Regions from separate parts of the Homo sapiens genome. Here regions 2, 3, 4, 5 and 6 are each linked to region 1. The links are contacts of gene promoters, found by promoter capture Hi-C in blood cells and fetal thymus (Javierre and others, 2016). All regions are on one chromosome and are shown on one strand. Each heading gives the region's core, a stretch centred on a gene start or on the middle of the fragment in contact. The rest is flanking DNA. Distances are from core to core; before and after follow the strand shown. Region 1 holds the start of GSG1L (GSG1 like). Region 2 overlaps AQP8 (aquaporin 8). Region 3 overlaps ZKSCAN2 (zinc finger with KRAB and SCAN domains 2). Region 4 has its middle 12 kb from the start of ZKSCAN2. Region 5 overlaps HS3ST4 (heparan sulfate-glucosamine 3-sulfotransferase 4). Region 6 overlaps HS3ST4 (heparan sulfate-glucosamine 3-sulfotransferase 4).

Evidence for each region. Contacts are between HindIII fragments. The CHiCAGO score rates a contact against its expected background, and 5 or more counts as called.
Region 2: a fragment that was not itself captured here is called in contact with the fragment with the promoter of GSG1L in region 1 in 1 of 17 cell types (non-activated CD4 T cells); the score reaches 6.5 in non-activated CD4 T cells.
Region 3: a contact is called between a fragment that was not itself captured here and the fragment with the promoter of GSG1L in region 1, in 3 of 17 cell types (naive B cells, total B cells and activated CD4 T cells). The highest score is 11.0, in naive B cells.
Region 4: a contact is called between a fragment that was not itself captured here and the fragment with the promoter of GSG1L in region 1, in 1 of 17 cell types (non-activated CD4 T cells). The highest score is 5.8, in non-activated CD4 T cells.
Region 5: a fragment that was not itself captured here is called in contact with the fragment with the promoter of GSG1L in region 1 in 8 of 17 cell types (non-activated CD4 T cells, total B cells, total CD4 T cells and 5 more); the score reaches 14.7 in non-activated CD4 T cells.
Region 6: a fragment that was not itself captured here is called in contact with the fragment with the promoter of GSG1L in region 1 in 8 of 17 cell types (naive CD4 T cells, total CD4 T cells, naive B cells and 5 more); the score reaches 13.9 in naive CD4 T cells.

The regions. Positions count from the first base shown.
Region 1 is chr16:28,061,529-28,066,193 of GRCh38, reverse strand. It overlaps GSG1L (GSG1 like), which reads left to right and starts at 2,480. Exons shown (of 7, transcript NM_001109763.2): 1 at 2,480-3,118. The coding sequence starts at 2,770. The HindIII fragment of the contact is 8,058 bases long and covers 1-4,665 here.
Region 2 is chr16:25,224,535-25,228,936 of GRCh38, reverse strand. AQP8 (aquaporin 8) reads right to left here. Exons shown (of 6, transcript NM_001169.3): 4 at 4,361-4,402; 5 at 1,735-1,869; 6 at 5-493. The coding sequence ends at 445. Among named protein-coding and RNA genes, the nearest start is that of AQP8, 9.8 kb to the right of the region's middle. The HindIII fragment of the contact is 230 bases long and covers 2,852-3,081 here.
Region 3 is chr16:25,240,797-25,245,385 of GRCh38, reverse strand. ZKSCAN2 (zinc finger with KRAB and SCAN domains 2) reads left to right here. Exons shown (of 7, transcript NM_001012981.5): 6 at 1,110-1,601. Among named protein-coding and RNA genes, the nearest start is that of ZKSCAN2-DT, 14 kb to the left of the region's middle. The HindIII fragment of the contact is 2,160 bases long and covers 973-3,132 here.
Region 4 is chr16:25,267,278-25,272,232 of GRCh38, reverse strand. No RefSeq gene overlaps it. Among named protein-coding and RNA genes, the nearest start is that of ZKSCAN2, 12 kb to the right of the region's middle. The HindIII fragment of the contact is 6,566 bases long and covers 1-4,955 here.
Region 5 is chr16:25,844,435-25,848,922 of GRCh38, reverse strand. The region is part of intron 1 of HS3ST4 (heparan sulfate-glucosamine 3-sulfotransferase 4); the gene reads right to left. Among named protein-coding and RNA genes, the nearest start is that of HS3ST4, 150 kb to the right of the region's middle. RefSeq lists a silencer at 4,062-4,319. The HindIII fragment of the contact is 8,837 bases long and covers 1-4,488 here.
Region 6 is chr16:25,826,729-25,831,480 of GRCh38, reverse strand. The region is part of intron 1 of HS3ST4 (heparan sulfate-glucosamine 3-sulfotransferase 4); the gene reads right to left. Among named protein-coding and RNA genes, the nearest start is that of HS3ST4, 140 kb to the right of the region's middle. The HindIII fragment of the contact is 862 bases long and covers 2,665-3,526 here.

The DNA of each region.
Region 1 (4,665 bases), core at 1,231-3,730:
CCTCAGCCTCCTGAGTAGCTGGAATTACAGTTGTGCGCCACCACACCAGGCTAATTTTTGTATTTTTAGTAGAGACAGGGTTTCGCCATGTTGGCCAGGCTGGTCTTGAACTCTTGACCTCAGGTGATCTGCCCGCCTCGGCCTCTCAAAGTTCTGAGTGATGTTCTTTCTTACGAACTTTGTTCACGTTCTCTTTTCTTCCCAGTGCTGAGCATTCAGTGGGTGGCTCAGTGAGTGGAGGAGCATCTTAGATGGAAATTCCAAATCCCTCTGTGCATCCTCAGGTGTTTCTTGAGAGAGTGTGGTCCCTGAGACATATCTCACCTGGGCTCTCCTGGCTTTGAACATGCAGGACAGGGTTCCCAGCTGTAGGTCACCGAGCCCTGCTCACATGCACACCAACCACAGCCTCGAGTCCAAAGAAGTACCCTGTTTAGCACACATCGAGGGGCTGGTTTTCATTGGTACACAGACACTCATGATGAATACTGCATGCCAGTTTAAAAGTGCTACTGGAGGCTGGGTGCGGTGGCTCATGCCTGTAATCCCAGCACTTTGGGAGGCCGAGGCGGGCAGATCACTTGAGGTCAGGAGTTCGAGACAAGCCTGACCAACACGGTGAAACCCCGTCTCTGCTAAAAATATGAAAAATAGCCAGGCGTGGTGGCAAGCGCCTGTAATACCAGCTACTCGGGAGGCTGAAGTATGAGAATCGCTTGAACCCAGAAGGCGGAGGTTGCAGTGAGCTGAGATTGCACCACTGCACTCCAGCCTGGGCGACAGAGTGAGACTCCATCTCAAAAAAAAAAAAAAAAAAAAGATGCTACTGGATTCTTTACAGCTGTTTGGCGATGATGTATTTTCTCTGTCAACCAATACTCTCAATGCCACCATTATCACATGGAGGTCCTCTCTTTCAAAATAGTTGAGAATCTCTTGCACAGTGCCAGAAAAGGGCTCTAAAAGCAAGTTTGGAGACCCTTGGCCATCCTTCGTGCCTGCTCTTACCAGGGACGTTGCCCACAACGTTTTCCTCTCACCTACCCCCCGGCAGATTAGCAGCAGCTGACAGTGGGTGCCGGCTCACCCACAGGAGTAAGGCAATTCATAATCGGTTAACCTTGAATTCTGCAAGGCCTGCCACTCGGCAAGCCGGGGGTTGTCGGAGCAGTTCTCAGCTTGGGCAGAATTCAAATGAGCTCTTATAATCAACATGCAATTAATTGTTGCACGCCCTGAGCATCTGGGCAGTAAGTGCTGTGCAGCGCGAAGGGAGTTCAGGGAGCGTGGTCATCTTAGAGCAGAGGTGGGGACGGGGTTGCACACAGTTTCCACGTTGCACAGGAGAGCCTGAAGAGGTTTGTCTGAGTTTGGTCAACTGATCTTGGTTCAGATGTCAGTAACAGTGAATTATTAATTGAGTCTACTGTGTGCCAAATGCTTTTTGCAGCCATGATCTCATTACAGCAGCCCACTGTGATATACCTTGAAGGGGGGGGGGTCCTCCCTTTTTTATAGTTATGGAAATTGAGGCTCAGAGAGGGTAAGTGACCTGTTCAAAGCCACACAGCTGGTCAAGCCCTAGATATGCTTGATCCCAAAGTCAGTATGTTTGGCCACCCTGCCCCCACCCGAATCTTGAAGATTCTACCCACATTCACATGGTGTGCATGTGAGCAGGGTTGGCAGCCCCTGTAGGGCACCACTGCCTGGTAGCTGCAATAACTTTGTGGCCGGCATGGGCCCTCCTAGGGTTCTGCTGTTTGGGATCTCAGGTGGGTGCAGTGGGCTGTCTGGGGTACCCTGTTGCCACTCTTCCTGCAGTTGCATGCCATGGTTGGGAGCCCAGATGACAGTTTCATCCTTGGAGGGGAGCTCTTCCCAGATGCTGGAGGTGACACCCAGGAGACAGAAAAACGTTTCAAACCCTATAACCCAATACTCCAGGAGGGGCGCCTCCTGACAGATTCTGCCACTCCAAGTCCAGCATGGGTTGTCTTATCCAGGGGGTCTTGCAGCTCCCTGGCTGTGGGAAGCCCTGCAGGCTCTGCTGTTTAGAACCTTTGGAAAAACTCCTTTCTCAGGGTCTGGTGCGGGGGTCCTTTTGGGGATCCCCTTCTGGGACAGGGTCCTGCTGGTCCGTGTCCCTCTTGGGGAGCCCCAGCAGGCTCTGCCCTTGTCTCCTGGGGCAGGGCCTCTCTGGGTCTCATGAGATGCCCGCTCCCGGCGGGTTTTGTTGCCCCACGTCCGCCGTGGGGATCTTTTCTCAGGAGCGCCTTGCCTGGGATTCTCCTTGCGTCTCAGACCCTCACCCTGGCTCGGATTTCTTTCGGGGGCGTCCCTCCACTCCCAGGCCCCCGCCCGCGCCCGGCGTGGCGGCCCCCTCTCCCCGTGCGGGCGGGCTCCGGAACAGTGTCGCCGGCCGCCTGCAGGTGTCTCCCCACGGAGGGGCGCGCGTCCCTGCGCCGTGGCCGCTGCCAGGCGCCAGCGGCTCCTAGCCGAGGTGCACTCGCGCTCCGGGCTCCGGGCGCGCCGTAGCCGCTCCTCCACCGCCGCCCGCCCCGCCAGCCCGCCCCGCACGCCCCCCGCGCCGCGCCCCCACCCCGGGGTTGGGGGGGGCATGGGCCCGCGCCGCGTCCGCCGCCGCCGATCTCAGGCACCCGAGCCCCGGGGCGCGGCGGGCAGCGGCCGCTGACGCGGGGCGCCAGCTGCCAACTTCGCGCGCGGAGCTCCCCGGCGGTGCAGTCCCGTCCCGGCGGCGCGGGCGGCATGAAGACTAGCCGCCGCGGCCGAGCGCTCCTGGCCGTGGCCCTGAACCTGCTGGCGCTGCTGTTCGCCACCACCGCTTTCCTCACCACGCACTGGTGCCAGGGCACGCAGCGGGTCCCCAAGCCGGGCTGCGGCCAGGGCGGGCGCGCCAACTGCCCCAACTCGGGCGCCAACGCCACGGCCAACGGCACCGCCGCCCCCGCCGCCGCCGCCGCCGCCGCCACCGCCTCGGGGAACGGCCCCCCTGGCGGCGCGCTCTACAGCTGGGAGACCGGCGACGACCGCTTCCTCTTCAGGAATTTCCACACCGGCATCTGGTACTCGTGCGAGGAGGAGCTCAGCGGGCTTGGTGAGTGCGCGCGGGCGGCGGCCAGCTCGGCTCCGGCTCCCCCGGGGCGGCGCGGCCATCGAGGCCCGAGCCCCGGACCCGTTCGCCCTCCTCCCGCCGCCTGGGCCCAGCTCCCAGCGCTCCGCCTGGCTAGGGGCGACGTTCCGGGGCAGGGGGCGCGCGCCGTTCCGGGGCCGGGGACCAGCATGGGGGGACGTGCGGGACGCCCCGCCGTGGAGAGGTGCAAGGCAGAGCTCCTACCCGCTGCGGACGCCCCGCGGCTTTGGGGACGCTCCCGCGCCCCGGGAAGGCGCCCACCCCCGCTGCCGGTCGGAGGGGCGCGCGCTGCTTTCCGCTCCTGAACTCATCTCCACGCTCGCCCCCTCCTCCTCTTCCTTTCGCGGGGCACTAGATGCCCCCACCCACCCCGGAACGCCCCTGGGGGTGGGGGTGATGCAGGGACTCCTGCTACCAGCCGCCCCTCCTGCCGCAGATCCACAGACCCGGGAGCCTTCCACCCCCATCGCCAACCCACGCCGAACCTCCCAGACGGGAGTGGGGAGTGGGGGAGTCCCGCGGGCTCCCGGAAAGCCGCACCCGCCCAGAGGCACCCCTATTGCCAGACGCCAGGGAGCCCTCTGTATCCTGGCCCCCTCCTGGGAGAGGCAGGCTAGGGAACTGGGGACAGCTGGGCAAACTCCGGGTCGAGGAGTCCAGGAGGGCTTAGCTTAGCACAAGGCTCCTATTAGGTTCGGTGGGGGACTGACTTTTCAGAAGGCAGATCAGACTGTCCCCTTTGCCTGGACCCCCTCCTCTACCCTCCAGAGGCAGCCTGGGCTGGAGTGCGTGTTTTGGAGGCAGACAGCCGGGCTGTGGCAGGGCCCAGGGGACAGCTGCCGGACAGCTGGTTGTGCCACACAGCAGGTAGAGCTGGCCCGAAAGACGTGGTATCTCTGAGCGGGTGTCCAGGCATGGACACCCTCCTGAGTGAATTGACCTCTTTCTCCAAGGTTAAAACTCCTCCCTGCATGCCTAGCTCCTCAGTGTGGACACCACACATATGTGTGTGCTCAAGGGTGGGTTACAGCAGACCTCCACCCTTAGTTTGCCCTAAATAAGCCAGTGGCCTAAGTGGTTTAGAGGGCAGAGGGAGGAAGCTGTGAAGCGAACCCAGTGAAAAGCTCCAGGCCTCTGCACAGGCTGCATCCTCTGTCTGGAATGCCCTTCCCCGCCCCACCTCCTTCTTCAGGGGCTCCTTTCACTGGGACTCTCCCACCTGCCTTCCATGTCAGGATACTGAGGAGGGACAACCTTGTGAGCTCCCCGTTGGAGGGAGGGTCTCCATCTTTGGATCTCACCACTGCGTTTATCTCCCTGCCACACTTGGCACTCCCTGACATTTTCTGGGGCCTGTTTTTGGTCACTAGCTTATAGTCCCCACTCCCCATAGGATGTCACTCTGTGAGGGCCAGCCCGGTTGGTCTTGTTCACTGCTGCCTCCCAGTAATGTCTAGCGCATAGTAGGTCTTCAATAAACATTTGCCGGGTGCATACTGGATGGGGTTGGG
Region 2 (4,402 bases), core at 1,717-4,216, 2.8 Mb after region 1:
CACGTGGAAGGAAACACTGGACTATTTATTGCAAAGTGAGAATTGTCAGCTTGAGAAGCAAGGAAGTGGCCAGGCCCCCAACAAAGCAATCAAGCAAGAAATGGGGTGCGGGAAATGAGCTGATGTGCAGAAACAGCCTCCTTGTCCAACTCGGGGACATTCCTCTCAAGAAACACGCTCGTGTTGTGGTGTTTGCACTGCTCTCTGGGCAGTGCGGGCAGCGTGTTCCCCAGGCTGGGGTCTCTGATGAGCACAAAGGAATTCCAAGAACCTAGAGCCTCCTCAGCAGTCAGTCTATCTGAGAAAGCAGGCCCAAGCAGTGGAAGCAGGGGGTCGCTCCTCTGGGCCTCTGCCCTGGCAGGAAATGCAGGAACTCCCCTGTCCTCAGTCTGGGACAGGTGAGCTGAGGACACCTGGAGCAGCAGGAATCCCACGAGCTCTGCTTCACCGAGCCTTCAGGATGAGGCGGGTCTTCCCATCTCCAATGAAGCACCTGCAAGAAAGATGACCCAGTAAGGTCTCTGCCCCGGAGGTGAGACCCAGCCCTTCGTCATGTCTCCAGGCTCAGAAGTCTCCAGAAAGATGACTTCCTGAGCCTCCCCAGCCTTAATAGCCAGATCCCCTTGCAGAGAGAGAGACAGTTTCCTGCTTGGTTTCTTTTTTTTTTTTTAATTGAGACAGAGTCTCACTCACCCAGGCTGGAGTACAGTAGCATGATCTCAGCTCACTGCAGCTTCCACCTCCTGGGTTCAAGCAATTCTCATACTTCAGCCTCCCGAGTAGCTGGGACTACAGACAAGCACCACCACACCTGGCTGATTTTTGTATTTTTAGTAGAGACAGGGTTTTAACCATGTTGGCCAGGCTGGTCTCCAACTCCTGACTTCAAGTGATCCACCCACCTTGGCCTCCCAAACTGCTGGGATTACAGGCGTGAACCACATGCCCGGGTCCTGCTTGGTTTCTAACCCTTTTCCTGAAGATGCTCATTGCTGCCACTCTGAAAGCCCAGAATTAAATGAAGCCGGGTGCAGTGGCTCACGCCTGTAACCCAGCGCTTTGGGAGGCAGATCACTTGAGGTCAGGAGTTGGAGACCAGCCTGGCCAACATGGTGAAGCCCCATCTCTACCAAAAAAATCACAAAAACTGGCTGGGCGCGGTGGCTCATGCCTATAATCCTAGCACTTTGGGAGGCCCAGGCAGGTGGATCACATGAGGTCAGGAGTTCGAGACCAGCCTGGTCAACACGGTGAAAACCCGACTCTACTAAAAATATAAAAATTAGCTGGGCGTGGTGGCGGCGCCTGTAGTCCCAGCTGCTTGGCAGGCTGAGGCAGGAGAATCTCTTGAACCCGGGGGCGGAGGTTGCAATAAGCCAGAATCACACCACTGCACTCCAGCCTGGGCAACAGAGGGAAACTGTCAAAAAAAGAAAAGGAGAAAGACCAAGTCCTAAAGACATTGTTTGAGCGCCACCTGAAACCACTGCTACCTGTGAAGTTTTTGATGATGTGAGCCAATGAATTCCTCTTTATGACATAAGCTATTTTGAAATAGATCTCTGTCACTTGCAACCAAAGCTCCTAGATGGAGCCATTTTCTTTGCCTCTAAAGAGGCTCCCTCTTTTCTCTTCCAAACCCAAGTGAGAGCCTAGCCCTCTAGTCCCGGACTCTCTGGGAGATGTTGCCAAGTGCCCATCCAATGGGCCGGTGACCCTGTGTCACACTCCTACCTAATGAGCAGTCCAACAAGCAGGCCAGCCAGGAGTGGGCCCAGCCAGTAGATCCAGTGGAAGTTCCAGTGGTTGGCCACCACCGCAGGTCCAAAAGCACGGGCGGGATTCATGCAGCCTCCAGACACAGGGCCCCTGCAAACACCCAGGCACCAAGGTCACCAGGATCCCAGCCAAACCCCACCTCACCTCACACTCATGTCCCCAACTAGGCCTAGTCACACACCACCCAGAAACCCTCTCTAAACTCCTACATCATGAGCTCCTGGGTAGATCCTAAAGAAGGCAGAGGGGCTATTAGCACCAGGAAGCAGAAGGCATGGCTCCCCGCTGGGCGTGCAGTCCAGCACTCCCCACACACTCCTCTAGAATGCCCAGCAAAAATGCCTACTGGGTGATGGCAGGAAGAGAAGCTGGAGCTACATTTGCTCCAAAGTCTACAAAGGAAAGTCAATCAGTTTCAATCCTTTTGGAGTCAAGCTGACCTAGATTCAAAACCCAGCCCACACATTATAAAATAACAAAAAGTGTATCATAGGATTGTTCGTGACCCAAAGAATAAATGCTTGAGGGGATGAATACCCCGTTTACTTTGACGTGATTATTACACATTGCATACCTGTATCAAAACATCTCATGTAACCTCAGCCAGACACAGAGGCTCATGCCTGAAATCCCAGCAGTTTAGGAGGCCAAGGCAGGCAGATCACTTGAGGTCAGGAGTTAGAGACCAGCCTGGCCAACATGGTGAAACCCTGTCTGTATTAAAAATACAAAGTTAGCTGGGAATAGTGGCACACGCCTGTAGTCCCAGCTACTGGGGAGGCTAAGCCAGGAGAATTGCTTGAACCTGGGGGTTGGAAGTTGCAGTGAGCCATGATCATGCCACTGCACTCCAGCCTGGGTGACAGAGCAAGACTCTGTCTCAAAAACTAAAACTAAAAATAAAATAAAATAACGAAGAGTATAAGTGGATTGTTTGTGACACAAAAAATAAATGCTTGAGGGGATGAATACCCCATTCACCTTGATGTGATAATTATGCATTGCATGCCTGTACCAAAACATCTCATGTAACCCAGAAATATATACACCTACTAGGTTCACCCACAAAGCTTTAAAAATATACATATAAAGAAAGAAAAACCCCAGCCCAGATAGTTCTAGGTGTGGGAACCTCCATGAACCTCTCTGTGTTCAGGTGAGGTGAAAGTGACTATCCCATAGGTTGTCATCAGGAGTGAATGAGAAAATGCAAATGGAGCCCACACCTCGAATATAATTAATGTACAAAAAGCATTAACTAATCTAGCTGGTCCAGATGAGGCCCTTGTTGCACCACAAGCTTAAGACCCAGAATCCTACAGGGAGACTCTTCCCCAGGTGCACTCCTCTCGTTCTGGGGCTCTGTCTTTACCCCATTCTCTCCAGCTGGGGGCCTGTAGACCTCATCCCCACCCTGTGTCCAGCTTCGAAGTCAAAAAGCTTGTAAGTAGGCGGGGCGCGGTGGCTCAGCCTGTAATCCCAGCACTTTGGGAGGCCAAGGCGGGCGGATCATGAGATCAGGAAATCGAGACCATCCTGCCTAATACGGTGAAACCCCGTCTCTACCAAAAATACAAAAAAAAATTAGCCGGGCGTGGTGGCGGACGCCTGTAGTCCCAGATACTCGTGAGGCTGAGGCAGGACAATGGCGTGAACCCGGGAAGCGGAGCTAAAAAAAAAAAAAAGGGCTTGTAAGTGAATCAAAGACCACTAGGGGGCAGCAAAGCATGGCCACAGCTTTACACACACATTCCCCAGCCTGCCCCAGGCTCCACCTCCCAAAGTTGAGGGAGAGCTGACCCAGGAGAAAGGTTAGACTTGGTTCTGTGTCCAAAAGAAAGGAAAGAGTCAGACATTAGGGAGGGGCTCCCTGGGCTGGGCACTGTGGCTCATGCCTGTAATTCCAGTACTTTTGAGAGGCCAACGCAGGAGGATGGCTTGAAGCCAGGAGTTCAAGACCAGCCTGGGCAACAGAGCGTGACCCCTATCTCTACAACAAAAATTAAAAGGGTTCACTCAGCCTCTTGTCCCAAATCTATCACTTAATTTGCCACTGCCCACTGACCTTAAATAAGTCACTTCTGTCCTCTCTAAGCCTCAGTTTCCTTATCTATAAAACGGGAGACATCATCCCCAATCTTGTCTACTTAATCCCTTCCAAAGCCTGCTGGGAGTCTAAAAATAAATGAGACAACAGCTACACATGCTCTTTGTAAGCCTGAGGCTAAAACCCGGCTGCCCGCTGACCGAATGAACACAGTTCACAGAAATGTTGTATTTACGCTACCAACATTGGAAAACATCACATACAGATTTAAATTTCTGACTTCCTTTGAATGAAAGCATCAGCCCAGACCCATGTACCCAGCAATAATTGACAAGAGCTGAACTGACTGCAGCACCTCTGACACTGCAGTCCCCACCACTCCCTGTTGTCTGCCTGATGCCAGCCCCCCTCCCCATTTGCAGCACCTTCCTGGCCCCTAATAGCAACTGAATCTGTGACCCTCAGGCCTGAAATCCCCCAGAGCTGAACAGCACAGATCTGGGCATGGTCACCCCACTGCCAAGGGACACTCACCCAGCCAGGATATCCACGGTGACGGCAAAGCCGATGGAGAAC
Region 3 (4,589 bases), core at 803-3,302, 2.8 Mb after region 1:
ATACCTGTAATTCTAGCACTTTAGGAGACTGAGATGGGAGGATCCCTTGAGGCCAGGAGTTTGAGAGCAGCTGGGCAACACAGCGAGACTCCGTCTTTACAAAAAATAAAACAATTAGCCAGGCATGGTGGCACACTCCTGTAGTCCCAGCTACTCAGGAGGCTGAAGCGAGAGGGTCGCTTGAGCCCTGGAGTTCAAGGCTTCAGTGAGCCATGATTGTGCCACTGCAGTCCAGCCTGGGCAACAGACTGAGATTCTGTCTCAAAAAATAAAAAATAAACATCTGCTAAGATGGGAAGATGCATTATGCCTAGACAGGTCTCACCAATCTGAAAATCCATCAACATGAGGCTGGGACTCTTGGGGTGGTCTCAAATATGGGAATCCAGTCATAGGCCTGGAAGAAACCACCTAGTAAGATAGAGGATAGAGATTTTTCCTACAATAGATTACAAAACATACAAAAAGCATGTTTTACAAATTATATTTAGATATGCCCTGAAAAGTTTTATTCTGCTATAAATGCAGAACATAGTCTTGTCTTACAGATCATTTCATCTCAAAGTAGAGGATTCAATGACATCCAAAAACTACTCTGAACATAGTTCTGCTCCTCAAGGAAGACTGCTTACAGAAGTGGTAGGAAATTTGAGGGGGAAAGTTCCTATTGGAAATTCTAGTCATTATTCTTAACCACTTTGGAAAGAGACTTCTAGAGAACTAAATCATTTAGTTAATCACCATAGCAATGGCAGATTTGGGGGACTGCATTTTTATTCTTCCAAATAAGCTTTGAGATTAGTTTACCGATTTCAGTTTTAAAAATCTGAATGGGATTTTGACTATAGATTCATATGAGAAATGATATCTGTACACCTTGAGTCTTCCTATTCATAAACAGTGTCTTGTCATTTTTTCTAGTTTTATGATATTACACATTTTGATATAGACCTTCTCATTTCTTGCAAAGCTTATTCCTAGGCATATGTAGTTCTTGTTGCCACTGTGAATGGGATTTTTTTTTACCTCTACATTTCTTAATGTATATAGTATAGAGGCTAGAGACTCCTTTTCTTTGTTACATTGTGAACTTTATCCCCAAATGGCAGGCGTGCACTGGGGCTATGAAGAAACCAAGACTTTTCTTGATATCCTCCGTGAGACTCGGTTTTATGAAGCGCTTCAAGCCTGTCATCGGAAGAGCAAATTGTATGGGGCTGTAGCTGAACAGCTTCGAGAGTGCGGCTTCCTCCGGACACCAGAACAGTGCCGAACCAAGTTCAAAAGCCTTCAGAAGAGTTACCGCAAGGTGAAAAATGGCCACGTGCTAGAGTCCTGCGCGTTCTACAAGGAGATGGATGCCCTGATTAACTCTCGGGCATCTGCTCCTTCCCCCAGCACCCCAGAGGAAGTCCCATCACCTTCAAGGCAAGAAAGAGGGGGTATTGAGGTTGAACCCCAGGAACCTACAGGCTGGGAACCTGAAGAGACCTCACAGGAGGCAGTAATAGAAGACTCTTGCAGTGAGAGAATGAGCGAGGAGGAAATTGTGCAAGAGCCAGAGTTCCAGGGACCTCCAGGTCTACTGCAGAGCCCAAATGGTAAGGTGCAAAACCAAGGAGTTTTAGTCCAAAAGAGGAATAAGTGTGATTTACTGAAAAATGAGTAGATCTTGCACATAGCTCATGAATATTCCTTCATTCAAGAAATATTTGAGTGCCTGTGCTACTTGAAGAACAGGGGATATAGCAGTGATGTTCTTGGCATGGTGGCTCACACCTGTAACCCTAGCAGTTTGGGAGGTTGAGGCGGGTGGATCACCTGGGGTCAGGAGTTCAAGACCAGCCTGGCCAACATGGCGAAACCCTGTCTCTACTGAAAATACAAAAATTAGCTGGGTGTGGTGGCGGGCACCTGTAATCCCAGCTACTCAGGAGGCTGAGGCAGGAGAATCACTTGAAACCTGGGAGGCGCAGGTTGCAGTGAGCCGAGATCGTGCCATTGCACTCCAGCCTGGGTGATAGAGTGAGACTCCATCTGAAAAAAACAAAGTTCCTGTTCTCATGGTGCTTCTATTCAAAGGAGGAACTCACGTTAGAGTGACTCAGTCCTTGGGTTCTCAGCCTTGGTTTTTGTTGGTATGGGTCAGACAGTGTTTTGTATCTCCTGGAAGTACCGTGGGGAAGAAAAACTTGGAATTACACATGAGAAAAAACTTGGATGAAGAAAGTGTTTCAGTAAGCACAAAAGAAGAATATCTTATGGTTATATGGGGTGTGCAAGACAAAAAAGATAGGCAGAGACTAAATAAAAGACTTTATTCTGGTCCTGAGCTCCACCTGCATGTTTCCCACTGACTTACGCCCTCGTGGGCCTGTCACTAGTAACTCAGGCTTAAGATGTTCAAAACTAACTTCACCATCTTCCTTACCACACCACGGCTCTTCCCTGTGGGCTCCCGCCCTCATCCAGACTATCACGTCTATCTGTCCCCTCTTCAGTTACCATTAGCCACTGTCTAGTTCAGTCTTCTCTCTCTCTTGCCTAGACTGTTGTAAAAGCCTCCAAACCAGTTTTCTCCACCCACACTTTTATTAAGGTTTCACAGCCATTTTTGATCTGAGCTCATCTTACTCTTCTAGTCTACATGTCAGCATTTTCCTTCCTCAACTCTGCTTATTCAGAGCGGAACTACTGGCTATTTCCTACATGCACCTCAAGCTCTTTCACATCCAAACTTTAGCTTGCGATGTTCCCTCCACCTTGAATGTCCTTGGCTCTACATATCTCCATGTCCAAATTCTCTCTCACCTCCCATACTTTGTCTGTCTCTGTCTTATGGCACTGAACACTTTGTATGTAAGATCTCCCAGACATGGTGAGCTCCTGAAGGACAGGAGCTCCGTCTTCCCATAACACTAGATTAAGCCCTCGGCAATCAGTTGAATATGCAGGGTAATTCAGGACTAGTTTATTGAAGCAAGTGACTCTAGCTTAGTATATATATGGGAAATTATAGTATGAAGGCTTGAATTAAGTCCTGTAGAACCCTGGCTTTGATAACTGGAAACAAAGTCCTTGTGAATCTTGTTTTTAAAGTGAGCTCCAAACCTATCATCAAATTATCAAGCTTTCTCTGAGCCAACTCCTAGGTTGTGACTTCCTCCAAATCGCAGAACAATGTTGAACTCAATCAGAAAACTTCAAAAGAAGTACTGACAGGCCAGGTGTGGTGGCCCACACCTGTAATCCTAACACTTTGGGAGGCCAAGGTGGGAGGATCGCTTGAGCACAGGAGTTTGAGACTAGCCTGGGCAACATACACCCCATCTCTACAAAAAATAAAAAATTAGCTGGGAGTGGTGGTGTGCACCTGTAATCCCAGCAACTTCTGGGGTTGAGGTGGGAGGATCACTTGATCCTGGGAGGTCAAGGCTGCAGTGAGCTATGATCATGCCACTGCACTCCAGCCTGGGTGACCAAAAAAGTACTAATAAGTGAAAGATGGAATTGTTAGGGCTTTTTACTTAAGTGTCTAGATTGATTGATGGCTGCCCTCCTCTCCCCATCCCATGCCACAGCCTCCACACTTGGGATTGAGAGTTATCTGTGGTTTCTACTGAATGTGTGGAAGGAAAGTAATGTTGAAACTGGCAGTAGAAACAAGGCAGGAGAGCAGATGCTTAAGAACAAGGATTAACCTGAATTGGGCCTAAGTTGCACAGCTTGTGAAATGTTTATGGATGAAATAACGTGATGTCTGGAATTGGCTTCAAAGTAGTCTGGATGGAGGGAGCAGGGAGTATGTGGGCGTGGAAATGAAATGAGATTGGCCATGAATAGGTCATAGTTAAATGTAGGTAAGTGGTTTGTGGGAGTTCATTATACATACTGTTCTCCAGACTTTTCTGTGTTTGAATTTTCCATAAGTTAATACAAAAATCACACAGTTAATAACTCACCAAGATGGGACCAGACTCAGAGCCGTGTAATTCCAAAACTTGTCTCTGTTCACCATGTCATGCTCTCTGTCCAGAAAACTTAACAGAAAATCTGGATCCAAGATGTAGTGAACGTGGGATGTAGGTGAAAAGAGTGAGAAAATAATCCAATTTGGGTAACAGTGAGAATTAAGATTTCATTTAGTGTGGTTTATGGGACAGCCTGAAAAACAAAGTGAGAAGAACATTTGAAAAGAAACAGGTACCCTTGGGTGGGATATGATTAGATATGTAGAGGAATTTAGTTCCTGAAGTCCCTCGAGGAACTTGGACTTAGTCAGAATCTAATCTAGAGATCAGTGTGGTGTAGTGTGCTTTAGTATAGAGGTGAAATTATGAAAATAGGATGAATTAGAGTGGAACCTCAGGGAGATAAGCCAGGTTGCACCCTTGTTAATCGGGATATGGATGGGGAATGATGGCTTGGATTATAATGCAGGAAACATTTCTTAAGGCCTACTCTGTACTGGCTGTTATTGGCCTGTTTATGAATGGAAAGAAATATAGCAGAATGAATCAGGGAAGAGTCACAGGATCTGAGGTTAGAGAAGTGTATGGAGAGCAAGCGGATCAAGCCTTGCAAGCCAG
Region 4 (4,955 bases), core at 1,134-3,633, 2.8 Mb after region 1:
TGGTGGCTCACACCTGTAATCCCATCACTTTGGGAGGCTAAGGCAGGTGGATCACCTAAGGTCAGGCGTTCGAGACCAGCCTGGCCAACATGGTGAAACCCCGTCTCTACTAAAAATACAAAAAAAATTAGGCAGGTGTGGTCGTGGACACCTGTAATCCCAGCTACTTGGGAGGCTGAGGCAGAATAATTGCTTGAACCCAGGAGGTGGAGGTTGCAATGAGCTGAGCTCGTGCCACTGCACTCCAGCCTGGGCAACAAGAGTAAAACTGTCTCAAAAAACAAAAACAGCTTTGGGAAAACTGCCCCCACGATCCAATTACCTCCCAAGTCCCTCCCTCAACATGTGGGGATTGCAGTTTGAGATGAGATTTGGGTGGGGACACAGAGCCAAACCATACCAACTAGCATTGAATTTGTTTTCAATTATTGATGAAGAACATCTCATGTATAAAACAGACTGGCACTGTTTCCTCTCCTCACTCCTTTCAGTACATCCATCCTCGTGTTGCTGCTTTCTCTTGTGGTCACTGAAACTCCTGAGCAGTAAGAGTCCTGACAGCACAGAAACTGACCAATCAGAATGGACACTGGACTTATCGCTGGAGCAGGATTGAGACGTTAACGTTTTGATCACTGGATCCGGAAGAGTGTGGCTCCCAAGGGAGGGCAGCAGTGGGGAGCCACTCAGAGGGTTCAAGAAAGCAGCTGTTTTCCAACTGATATGGAAATAGCTTAATATTTTAACAAGTGTTACAGTAATGCCAGTGTCTGCCTGTGCCTTGATCTAAATAATAATTGAAAATACCTACTATTTATTGAGAATTATGTGGCAGATACTGTGATACATACTGAATAAACATTATTTCATTCCATTTGGTCATTGTTGAAAACATTTCCTTTTTTTTTTAGACAGGGTCTCACTCTGCCACCTAGGCTGGAGTGCAGTGGTGCAATCAGCTCACTGTAGCCTCAAACTCCTGGTCTCAAGCAATCTTCCCATCTCAGCCTCTTGTGTAGCTAGGACTACAGACATGCCCCACCACACCTGGGTAATTTTTTTTTTTGGGGGGTGGGGGGGCACTGACAGGGTCTCACTATGTTGCCCAGGCTGGTCTTGAACTCATGGCTTTGCCTCAGCCTCCCAAAGTTCTGGGATTACAGACATAAACCACCATGTCCAGCCAGGTCTGAGCATCTATTACATGTCTCTACTCAAGGATTGCTTCTTACGCGTTGGGAAGAAAAGGAAGAAGCTAGCAGGCAGTCTGCAGTCCACACCGGGCTGCCCCCACCAGCTGTTGTGTGCCTGGCAGCGCTTTCAGCCCCATTCATTTCCAACTCCAAGGGGTTTGTCACTTTGCCGGTTGTTGCCACATTTCCATCCTGAAGTGGCAGCTCCAGTTGTGTTTCCCAGATAATTTCCAAGATGCTAATTGCCACCTGCTGATTTCCTGTAAACACTGTACTGTACACATGTGATTAATCAGAGAGCTGTGGACTGTTCCAAGGAAGTGTGTGTGCATGTGTGTGTGTGCGTTTCATTACGGTGGTGGATTTAAATCACAGGCAATGTTTGCTCACAAAGCTGCATTAGCAGAACGGCAGGGAAAACAAAATTATAAAATACCATAAACTGCAAGTTCACAGACTGTATACACAACAACTCAAGTCAGCCCAATAATTCCCTGACTAAATTCTGGAAGTGAGCAGCAGGAAGGTAGCATCTCTAAAGGAGACTTTGAACCATTTCTTCTTCAGATTCAAGATCAACCTTGTGCCAGACCTTAGCTTTTCACTGCAAGTTACCTGCACCTTTAAAACTCCAACTCCTCATCTGTAAAAATGGATAATAATTTCTGAGTCACAGAAGATAACATGTAATATGTTTATTTTGTATATCAGTCAGAACTGTGTGGGTTGCAAGTGACAGAAATTGAATTCAAAGTGGCTTAAGCAAAGCAAAGGAATATATTGGCTCAAAAACCTAGAGACAGGGGTCTAGTTTCAGGTGCAGTTGCATCTAGGAGCTCAAATAATGACTTCAAACTCTGTGGCACCCTCTGCTTTTTTATCTTGCCTCATTCTTGGAAGACTCTCCTTACAGCAACCTAGTAGACTAACAACAGGTCCAGGCATATATTTTATCTTCTCAGCAACCATGGTAAACTAGTGTAGATAGCATCACACTTGGGAAATGACCCACTAGTGTAAGAGTTAAAGAGCAAAGAAACATGAAAAGCAGCTTAACATTCAAAGTCAGTTTCTTTTGGAGAATAAACCTGAGGGGTTTCTGACCAGTTTTGATCGGGGGCACTCTCTCTTACAGACTAAAGATGTTTAAGGATATAGGAAGTGGGGAGCTTATCGTAGGTTCGCAATGTTTCGATGTGAGGGAAAGTTTATCATGGGGTTGGAAAGTCTCTGGTTGGAGGTGAAGCTATCTTGGGGTCGGCATGTTTCTGGTTGGAGTGGCGTTTATCTTAGGGTTGGAATGTTTCTGGTTATGCTAACATTAGCCATTAGGCTGATGTTTGGGGGCTGGATTTAGGCAGGTTTTTTTTAATCAAGGGGAATTTAAAATGGTGGGGTTTGTCCAAGATAGCAATGCTCCTGCTCTGTCCACTAGCCCATTCTCAGACCTCCTGATTTGGGTAGTTAATTGCCTACTTGCTTACACCTACCCAAACTCCCAAGACATGCACAGAATCAGCCACATACATGAAGACACTGCCAGACCTCTGACCCCCAAACCAAACCAGATGGCTGGAGGGACAGCCTGGCACCATCTGACAGTGTTCATAAGAGAAAAAAATCGGGGATTCCAACATCAGGATATGGATTTCACGAATGATACTCAACCTCCCATACGAACTCATGTGCTGAGCGACAAGAGGGAGAAGTTTACTTAACTTGGAAATAACCGGTCAGCCCCTTTTACACATGCTTGTTTCAGTCCTGGGCCAACAGTGGAAAATGGGCAGTTCACAGACTCAAATCCAGGCACATCTGGCCAAGGTCGCTATTTGCCATTTTCTGTTTCTAAGCCACTCCAAGTCTCTATGGCTTTTTTTTTTTTTTTTTTTTTTTTTGATGGAATCTTGCTCTGTTGCCCAGGCTGGAGTGCAATGGCGCGATTTCAGCTCACTGCAACCTCCGCCTCCTGGGTTCAAGCGATTCTGCTGCCTCAGCCTCCCGAGTAGCTGGGATTACAGGCAAGCACCGCCACATCCAGCTAATTTTTGTATTTTTCATAGAGACGAGGTTTCATCATGTTGGCCAGGCTGGTTTCAAACTCCTGACCTCAGGTGATCCACTCGCCTCGGCCTCCCAAAGTGCTGGGATTACACGCATGAGCCACTGCACCTGGCCTCTATAGCATTTCTTATAGGAAATACTCATAGAATCCCAGCCTGAGATTCTGGTCTTGAAGTATAGAACCCATGGCTCTACCTAATCACACAGCCCCTTTATCCCATCCTATTGGGGCAAGATCCTATCCCCTAACCCCTTCATTTCCATTGTTCCTCCTCTTCAACTTCTTTCCTAGCGGGAAGAAGATAATTAGTATAATACATGAAAGTTATCCTATGAGAGTTGACCAATATTAGCCATAGAGGTTTCATGGTCTTTGGGTACCCTGCTCTGAAAAATGCGAGAACTCGGGGAAAATGGGTCTTATCAAGACAGATAAAAAGGAGCAGGTGCAGATAAAGGCTGGAGCCCTTGTTAGAAAATAATAGAGGGATGGAAATCAAGATAAAGGGAATTTCCTTGTGTCTACAAAAGGCAAACTCAGCCTGACAGGTAATGCACAGAACAAAGAGATGCTGGCAGCAGCCTCTACATTCTCAATCTATTCCTGACTAGCAATGATGAGCATTAAGTCCTTTCTGATAATTAAATGAGCTTATTTGCCTTCTTTTTCAGTCATTGTAAGTTAAAATAACAGGGTTAGATGCAGCATAAAGTAATGGTTAAAAGCACAAACTCTGGAGTCAGGTCACGTGAATTTGAATCCAGGATCCTCTACTCAGCAGCTAGAAGAACTCGGGCATGTTACTTCCCTTTGCTTTAATTTTCTTGTTAGTAAATGGGAATATTGATAGCATCTACCTCCCAGTGTTGGCATGAGAACGAAATTAGTTATTGCATATAAAATAGTCAAAATCATACCTGGCTCATAATAAAAATTCAATACATTTTAGCTATTAGACAAGTAGCAACCTGGACTTCCCTGCCTCCAGGGAAATTCCCTTGTCTACACGCACATGGTTAATTGGGTGAATCCCCCAAGAGGAACACTGGACCTCTCTAGGGACTCACAGAGGCAAAGTGGGAGCACCCAATAAAAGTGTGGCTTGCACATAAGGAACTTTGATTTCCTTGCAGCTGTTCCTTGCTTGTGCTTCACTTGATTTTTTTTTTAGATTTGGGGGTACATGTGCATGTTTGTTACAAGGGTATTACATGCATAATGGTGTGGGTTGGGCTTCTAGTGGACCTATCACCTAAATACCAGACATTGTACCCAATAGGTAATTTTTCAACCTTCACCCCCATCCCACCCTCCCCATATTAGGAATCCCCAAAATCTATTCTCTCCATGTTTATGTCCATGTGTAACCTTTGTTTAGATCCCACTTATAAGTGAGAACATGCAGTATTTGATTTTCTGTTTAGTTCACCTAGGATAATTGCCTCCAGCTCCATCCATGTTGCTGCAAAGGACATGATTTCATCCTTTTTATGGCTATGTAATATTCCATGTTATAGATCTGCCACATTTTTTTTTCTTTTTTGAGACAGGGTCCCACTCCACCAGCCATCATAGCACCATCACAGCTCACTGCAGCCTCCACTTCCTGGGTTCAAGTGCTCCTCCCACCTCAGCCTCCCTAGTAGGTGGGACTACAGGTGCATGCCACCACACCTGGCTAATTTTTTATTTTTATT
Region 5 (4,488 bases), core at 1,048-3,547, 2.2 Mb after region 1:
GAAAATTTACAACTTTAAATGTATTAGAAAACAAGGAAGACTGAAAATAAATGAACTAAACATTCAACTCAGGAAGCTGGAAAAGGAACCATGAAAACCATAATAAAAAAACTGAAGAAAGTAAAACAAAAAAAAGAGAAGGAATAAAGATAAAAGCAGAAATAAATGAAACAGAAAACAAAAGAAAAATAGGAATTTGCAGCAATGAAACTAAAAGCTAGCTCTGTAAAAAGAGCAATAAAATAAACAAACTTCTGTAAGACCTGGCAAGAAATAAAGAGAGCACAAATAACAATCTTCAGAATGATGAAGAGGGCATAACTACAAATGTGGGAGAGGTTTATACTAGATATAAATTTACATCAATAAATCTGAACATCTAGATTAAATGGATCATTATTAAGGATTTTTAAATTACCAAAGTAAACTCAAAAAGGGCTTAGAAAAAGCAAAAAAAAAAAATTATTTTTTCGTTTAAAATTAGGCTGGGCACAGCGGTTCACTCCTATAATCCCAGCACTTTGGGAGGCTGAGGCGGACGGATCATTTGATGTCAGGAGTTTGAGACCAGCCTGGCCAACATGGTGAAACCCCATCTCTACTAAAGATACAAAAAATTAGCCGGACGTGGTGGCACACGCCTGTAATCCCAGCTACTCAGGAGGCTGAGGCAGGAGAATTGCTTGAACTCGGGAGGCAGAGGTTGCAGTGAGCCTTGATCGTGCCACTGCACTCCAGCCTAGGCAGCAGAGCAAGACTCTGTCTCAAAAAATAAAAAAAAAAAGTTAGCAAATACCTAACCCTCCCAAATCACCAGACCCATATAGTTTTATGGATGAGTTCTACTGACATTCTCACAATATGTAATCTGTACTTCACTGTGATTATTTTAGAACACTGAAAAAGAAAGTTGTTGAAATCATTCTCAAAGACAAACATAAAACTGATACAAAAACCAAATTGTATTTTACCAGCAGTAAAGACCCTCAAAAGAATAATTTAAATACATAAATATAAATACCAAAAATTGTAACAAATAGATAAGTAATTTTAATTTAGCAATGTCTTAACCAAATGAAACGACAGAACCAAATAGGATTTTCTCAGGAATGATATAATGATCCATCATTAGGATTTCTGAAATTAGCCACCTTCTTTTTTAAAAGAGGACAAACCCTATATGTTCACCTTAATAAATGTTTAAAATCTTGACAAAGAGCTACCTGAATTCCCAGGAAGAGTTCACAGCAATCTAGAAACAGATTTTATTTTAACTGATAAAGAGTATTAGCAAAAATCTACTACAACTATATATTCAGGAGTGACACACTATAAGCATTTCAATTAAAATAAAGAATTAGATTAAAAAGTTGATTATCACGGTTAACATTCAACATTGTCTTAGATATTCTAGACATTGCACCAAGTCAAAAACAAACAAAACTGAAGGGAGTTAAATTGTAAAGAAAGTCACAAACTGTCACTATTTGCATGTGTTATCATTCTTGACCCAACAAAAACTACTAAACTCAACTTAATTTTTGAAATTAATAGCAAAATAATTTAAGGTGGCTGACTGCAGACAAAAATCAATAGTTCTCCTAAGCATTAATAACAATTTATATGGGGGGGATCCCAATTATGAACCAGGTACAATATAAAATATCTAGTTATAAACCTAACAAAAATGTATAGGATGGAAGAAAAACTACACACACTTACTAAAGTACATTTAACAATAAATAAGTTAAAAGACATGCCATGTTCCTTGACTGAAACATCATACATTAATCTACTGTCTCAATGTAATCCTGCTAAGAATTCCAATATGATGTTTTAAAGAAAGCTAATAAACTGCCTGTAAAATTTACCTGTAAATGTGAAAAAAAGAGTCAAAAAAAAAAAAAAACTCGTGTTGATGGGAGAGCAAAATAGGAAGTGTATGTGCTGTTTTAGACATTAGCATTAGACTATATAAGAAGCTGTAGTAATTAAAAGAATAGGATTCCAGTACAGAGATGAATGAGTGGAACACAACAGATAGTACCAAAACAGATCATGCAGTGCACATGCGGAAAACTTGACGACGGTATTGAGAAAACTTCATCTCCACTGTTGGGGGAATGAGAAGTATTTTCCCACATCAGACTGCATATAAAAATAAATTATAGATTGATTAAAAATATAGATATATATAATCAAAACTATGGCTATATTAGAAAATTTTTTTAATTTTCTGTTATAGAAAGAATGAACACTCAAATTATAAACAAATATAACAGAATTCACTGCCTTCAAGATGTAAATATCTGTGGGCTGAAAGATACTACAAACTTAAGATATTGATGGCAAACTGGGGAAAAAAAAATACAACTTTTTTTTTTTTTAAGAGATGGGGTCTCACATTGTTGCCCAGGCTGGAGTGTAGTGGTGTGATCATGGCTCACTGCAGCCTCGAACTCCTGGGCTCAAGAGATCCTCCCACCTTAGCCTCCTGCGTAGCTGGAACTATAGGTACCTGTCCCTGCACCCAGCTACATTTTTTATTTTTTGTAGAGACAGGGTCTTACTGTGTCGCCCAGGTTACAAAACACAATTTAACAAATAACACAAGGTATTAATACCAAAATTGCAGGAACTGCTGGTTAGTCAACTCAAAACTCCTCACCAATTTATTTTGACTTTTCCTACCTCCATTCTAGGCATAAACTTCCTTGCAGCTTCTGGGAATGCTTTAGCTTTCTGATAAAAAGGACAGATGCCACTGGCACTGCTACTTTACGATCAAGAGGAAAAAGCCAAGAAAGAGACCGCACTGCTGACAAGCCTGAGCTACAGAGCAAATGCCAACAGCCTCCTACCTCTAGGCTTCTCATTGTGGAAGAAAAATAAATCCTTATTTGTTTAAGTCACTGTTAATCCAGCTCTTTGTTCCTTGCAGGGGACAACTCCAAATACGAACAGTAACATAATAAGAGCAAAACAGGGACCCTAACACAAAGACAAACAACCCAATAGAAAAATGAGTAAAGGTCCGAATAGATAATGCAGAGAAAAAGAGGAACAAATAAATGTGCATTAAATTTATAAGAATAAACTTATTCGAAAGGACAAATAAAACAGTGAGATAGCATTTTTCAGCCTCCAGATTGGCAAAAATGAAGAGAGAGAATGAGAAAGACAAAGAGAATGAAAGAAAGAAATACAATATCCAGGCTTTGAGAGAGTAGGGAATTCTATTATTATTATTATTATTATTATTATTATTATTATTACATGCTATTCCTTGGATTCCTTGGCACAATCATTTTGAAAGTCAATTTTTCGGCACCAATTAATCAAAATTTTAAATGGGTCTTCTCTTTGACCCAGCATTTCCTCTTCTTAGATTCTTACATTTGTTGTTGTTGTTTTGAAATGAAGTCTCGCTCTGTCGCCCAGGCTGAAGTGCAGTGGCACGATCTCAGCTCACTGCAACCTCCACCTCCCAGGTTCAAGCGATTCTCCTGCCTCGGCCTCCAGAATAGCTGGGATTACAGGTGCTCATCACCATGCCCAGATAATTTTTGTATTTTTAGTAGATACAGGGTTTCACCATGTGGGCCAGGCTGGTCTTAAACTCCTGACCTCAGGCGATCTGCCAGACTCAGCCTCCCAAAGTGCTGAGATTACAGGCATGAATCCCCGTGCCCGGCCTACATTTATTTTTAATTTTTATTTTTATGTTAAGTTCCAGGGTACATGTGCAGGTTTGTTACATAGGTAACAAAGGTGTGCCATGGTGGTTTGCTGCACCTATCAACCCATCACCTAGATATTAAGCCCAGCATCCATTAGCTATTTTTACTAATGCTCTTCCTCCCCAACCCCACCCCCCAACAGGCCTCAGTGTATGATGTTCCCCTCCCTGTGTCCATGTGTTCTCATTGTTCAGCTCCCAGTTATAAGTGAGAACATGCAGTGTTTGGGTTTCTGTTCTCACATTAGTTTGCTGAGGATAATGGCTTTCACCTTCATCCATGTCCTGCAAAGAACATGATCTTGTTCCTTTTTATGGCTGCATAGTACTCCCTGGTGTATATGTACATTTTCTTTATCCAGTTTATCATTGATGGCATTTGGGTTGATTCCATCTCTTTGCTATTGTGAATAGTGCTGCAATGAACATACACATGCATGCATCTTTGTAATAGAATGATTTATATTCCTTTGGATGTATACCCAGTAATGGGATTGCTGGGTCAAATGGTATTTCTGGTTCTAGATCTTTGAGGAATCGCCACACCGTCTTCCACAATGGTTGAACTAATTAACATTTCTACCAATAGTGTAAAAGCGTTCCTATTGTGTGTGTGTGCTCAAAGATTCATGTTCACAAATGATCACTACCAGACTCTGTAAGATATAAAAATGGAAATGCTTTTCATGAACATCATTAAAGAAATGGCTACATGAATAACCACTAGCAGAAATTAAAAGGAATAAGAG
Region 6 (4,752 bases), core at 1,846-4,345, 2.2 Mb after region 1:
TAGCTGGGACTACATGTGAATGTGACCACGTCAGGTTTGTGTGTGTGTGTGTGTGTGTGTGTGTGTGTGTGTGTGTGTGTGTGTAGAGACGGGGTCTCATTATGTTGCCCAGGCTGGTCTCAAACCCTGGCTTCCAGTCATCCTCCCAACTTGGCCTGCCAAGGTGCTAGGATTACAGGTGTGATCTACCATGCCCGGTCAGTATGCAAGTAAGTGAGGGTGATTATTTCAGATACTGGTGAGTGACATGCTTCTGATGAGTGAACCAGTGGGGAGCATGTGGAGAGAGCACCCTTGATGGGGTGGTGAGGGAACACTTCTCTGAAGAGATGACATTTGAGGCAAAACTTAAATGAGGAGACACAGCCAAGCATGGCAAGATGAGGGGAAGGCATTCAAGCCACAGCAGAGGCAAAGGCCTGAAGAAGGAAAGAAGACTAAAGTCAGGTGGCTGAAGTGCAGGGAGGAAGAGGAAGAGCAGCAGAATGTGAGGCCAGGTTGGCTAGAGTCCTGGAGGCCACAATATGGAGTTTAGAGTTGATCCTGAGAAGTGTGGGAAGCCACTGGGTGCTTACACAAGGCATTGGCACATTCTGAAATGTCCCTGTGTGAACGGATTAAAAATGAGAAAGGGGAGTCCAGCTGGAAGGTCGTCACTATACTCAGGATAAGAGATAGAGGTGGGTTGGAACAGTGACTGAGCTGTGATCGTATAGATGTAGACCAATTGGGGATAGAGCTGACAGCTAAAAAAAAAAAAAGACATGGATTGAAGGTGGGGAATGAATGGAAAGAAAGAATCAAGACTAACTCCTCAGTTTTTGATGTCAGCTGGTCAGAGAATGAAGTCCCACTGATTAAGGGAAAGCAGATTTGGGGGAAATCAAGACATCCATTTCAGGACACTGGGGACACTGGCGACATCTTTAAGTCAACTTAGTCATTGGATATAGAAGGACAAACTCAGAGAAGTAGTCAGAGGGGTCAGAGCTCTAAATCTGGGGTTCTGAGAAGAACAGGTGATGCCTCCCCCTGCAGAGGAGAGAACCTGTAAGCAGAAGATGTGGGCAAGACAGAGGCTCAGGACACATCGTATGATTCTTCAAACAAGAAATCTCCATTGGGGTGATAAAATTTACAAAAGCCAAGATGGTGAAAGAGGATAAAGAAAGAAAAGAAAAGCAATGTAAATGTGGCATCGTGAAACGTGCACTGATCTTACATTGATAACCACTTTGGTTCTGTTTTTAGCTAACTTTTATTGTCTACTATCTTCCAGGCACTATAAAAAAGTAACAGTTTATCTCTTCAACTAAGGCTTTTTTCCATGTGGAAGAGCCCATTTAATGTATTTTAGGCTGGGTGTGGTGGTTCATGCCTGTAATCTCAGTATTTTGGGAGGCTGAAGGGGGTGGATTGCCTGAACTCAGGAGCTCGACACCAGCCTGGGCAACATGCCGAAACCACGTCTCTACTTAAAATCCAAAAAATTAGCCAGGCGTGGTGGTGTGTGCCTGTAGCCCCAGCTACTTGGGAGGCTGAGGTGGGAGACTCGCTTGGACCCCAGAGGCAGAGGTTCCATTAAGCTGAGATTGCACCACTGCACTCCCACCTGGGCGACAGAGCAAGACTCCAACTCAAAAACAAATTAAAAATAAAAATAAATAAATAATTTTTTAAAATAGTGTATTTTACACCATGTAATATTATGCAGTCATAAAAAAGAATGAGCTCATGTCCTTTGCAGGGACATGGATGAAACTGGAAGCCATCATCCTCAGCAAACTAACACAGGAGCAGAAAACCAAACACTGCATGTTCTCACGTGTAAGTGGGAGTTGAACAATGAGAACACACAGACACAGGGAAGGGAACATCACACACCGGGGCCTGTTGCAGGGTCGGGGCAAGGGGAGGGAGAGCATTAGGACAAATAACTAATGCATTCAGTGTTCAAAACCTAGATGATGGGTTGATGGGTGCAGCAAACCACCACGGTACATGTATACCTACGTAACAAACCTGCACATTCTGCACATGTATGCTGGAACTTAAAGTAAAATTAAAAAATAAAAATGAAATAGTGTATTTTAAATACTCTTGGCTTCTCTCTACCCATGTGCCTACTCTGCCCTGATAGAAATGAAGTGATTTTCCTGATTGTCACATTTAGGGCAAAATGTCTTTTCTCCTCTAGGCAGCAAGCTGCCCAAAGGATGTAGGGTTTCTCCTCTGCTCCTTCATACAGTAAATTCTTATTCTAGGCAAGTCTCCATGAAGGGAGGCTTCTCCCAATCAAGTGTTATCTGTCTGTGCCTAAGTAGGTAACAACCTTAATGTTCATGTGGGAATTCAGCCAAGAGACACACTTGTTGCACACTAAGCCGTATTCCCCATTTGCCCTTGGTCAGTAATAAAGATAACGTGATTGCCTCTGTCTGTCACTTCTTGGTCTTTATTTAGAACTCAGGCAGAAGAGAGGAATGCTATTTATTGCTCAACCCAAGCTGCCTTGAAGACCCCAACAGGCACTTTCACGTGCATTAAATTCTCACATGAACCTTATAGTGTTCTTCATATGATCCACCATAAAGATGGGAAAACTAATGCTCAAGTAAGTTTAATCACTTGTCCAAGTTCACAAAACTGACTAGTAAAAAAGCTTCTCTAGCTAGAGGCCATTACCCTAAGCAAACTAACACAAGAACAGAAATGCAAATAGCACATGTTCTCACTTATAAGTAGGAGCTGAACCTCAAGTATGTTTGCACATGGACACCTGGGCCTACTGGAGGGCAGAGGGTAGGAAGAGGGTAAGCATCAAAAAACTACTTATCGGGGGCCAGGCACAGTAGCTGACACCGATAATCCCAGCACTTTGGGAGCCTGAGGTGGGTGGATTGCTTGAGCCCAGGAGATCGAGTCTGGCCTGGCCAACAAGATGAAACCCCATCTCTACTAAAAATACAAAAACTAGCTGACTGTGGTGGCGGGTGCCTGTAGTCCCAGCCACTTGGCAGGCTGAGGCAGGAGAATTGCTTGAACCCAGGAGGCGGAGGTTGCAGTGAGCTGAGATCATGACACTGCACTCCAGGCTGAATGACAGAGCAAGACGCTGGAAAGAGAGAGAGAAAGGGAGAAAGAGAGAGAGAGAGAGAGAGAGAGAGAGAGAGAGAGAGGGAAAGAAAGAAAGAAAGAAAGAAAGAAAGAAAGAAAGAAAGAAAGAAAGAAAGAAAGAGAAAGAAAGAAAGAAAGAAAGGAAAGAAAGCAAGCAAGAAAGAAAGAAAAGAAAGAAAGAGAAAGAGAGAGAGAAAGGAAGGAAAGGAAAGGAAGAAGGGAGGGAGGGAGGGAGGGAAGGGCTGCTTATGAGGTACTATGCTTTTTATCTAGGTGAAAAAATAATTTGTACACCAAATCTGTACATCCTGCAGCACACAATTTACCTCTATCAGAAATCTACTCATGTGCCCCTGACCCTAAAATAGAAGTTAAAAAAAAAGAAACCTCCTCTCCTCATAAAGAAGCTTTCCTCACTTAGTATCTTCTGAATCTGAAACTTGGTTTCAACACGAGCTCTGCTGATTGCTAGCTCCGTAGCTTGTGACAAGCTTCCTCATCTGTTAACATGGAGGATAATTTCACAGAAGCATCTTGTGAATATTAAATGAGCTAAAATTCACAAATCAATCTGGCACATAGTAGGCCAGATTGACTCTTGAAAGAAATTTCTACAAATTAGGAAACTTTAAAACTTTACCATTTTAAAGTTTAAACTTTAAAATTATCTAATGTAAGGGAGAAACGAGAATATGCTAAATGTAGCATCCTTGGTGGTTTTTATTCTAAGAACCTCTTTTTGGGACTTTATGTCCAAATGATTACTTCAGTAAATAACTGATTTCCGCTAAGATAGAAACCAAAAGCTTGTTGTTGTTTTTTTTTTTTTTGTGAAGACAGCATTATTCTGTTTATTACATTGACAATTAACAGTAAGTTTTGAAAGACAGGAAAGTCTTCAAAGGAATTTGGGGAACTGTATTCTGACTTGTCAGTGAATGCTGTGGCCTTCCCTGTCCCACCTAAATGACATCTGCCTGGGTCATAGACACCTGCAGGTGTCGATCAGGGTATGGATGGCAGTCACTCTCTGCTTATTGCTTGAACGAAGGAATTGCAAACTCTGACACTATTATGGAGCTGATCCCTTACTGGCTCGGACAAGGAGAAAGCCAGTTTGTAGGACCGTGTGGCTTTCTATGCAACTGACACACAGAAAGACCAAATGGCTCCAAGAAAGAGTCTGAGAGCAGCTACGTTGGATCTCAATGGCTTTCTGATTATTGGTCCTAGTGTCTCGTCCCTGCTGGGTTTTCAATTTCTGGTTCTAGCCTCTTGAGAAGTCTGGCTCTATTTCTTATTAACTTCCATTTTCTATCTTTGAGTCCATATAATAAAGTGCCCTTCCTTTTCTTTTTTATTTTTTTCTGTAGCCTAGTTTGAATGATCCTCTGTTACTTGCAAACAAAGGCACACCGAGGACTGCAGCTTTTCACTGAGGTTGGAGGTAATACTGAGGATCATCACTGTCTTGAAAATGGCACATTCTGGAAGACTTGAAAAGGGCAAGCATGTCTGATTTATAAAGAGATAAACCCACTCATGGAAATTATATACCATGAAAGCTATTAAAATCACCCGGGAAATTACTAAAATAATCATGCCTCCCTTCAGCCACAGGCTCCTATCCCTCCA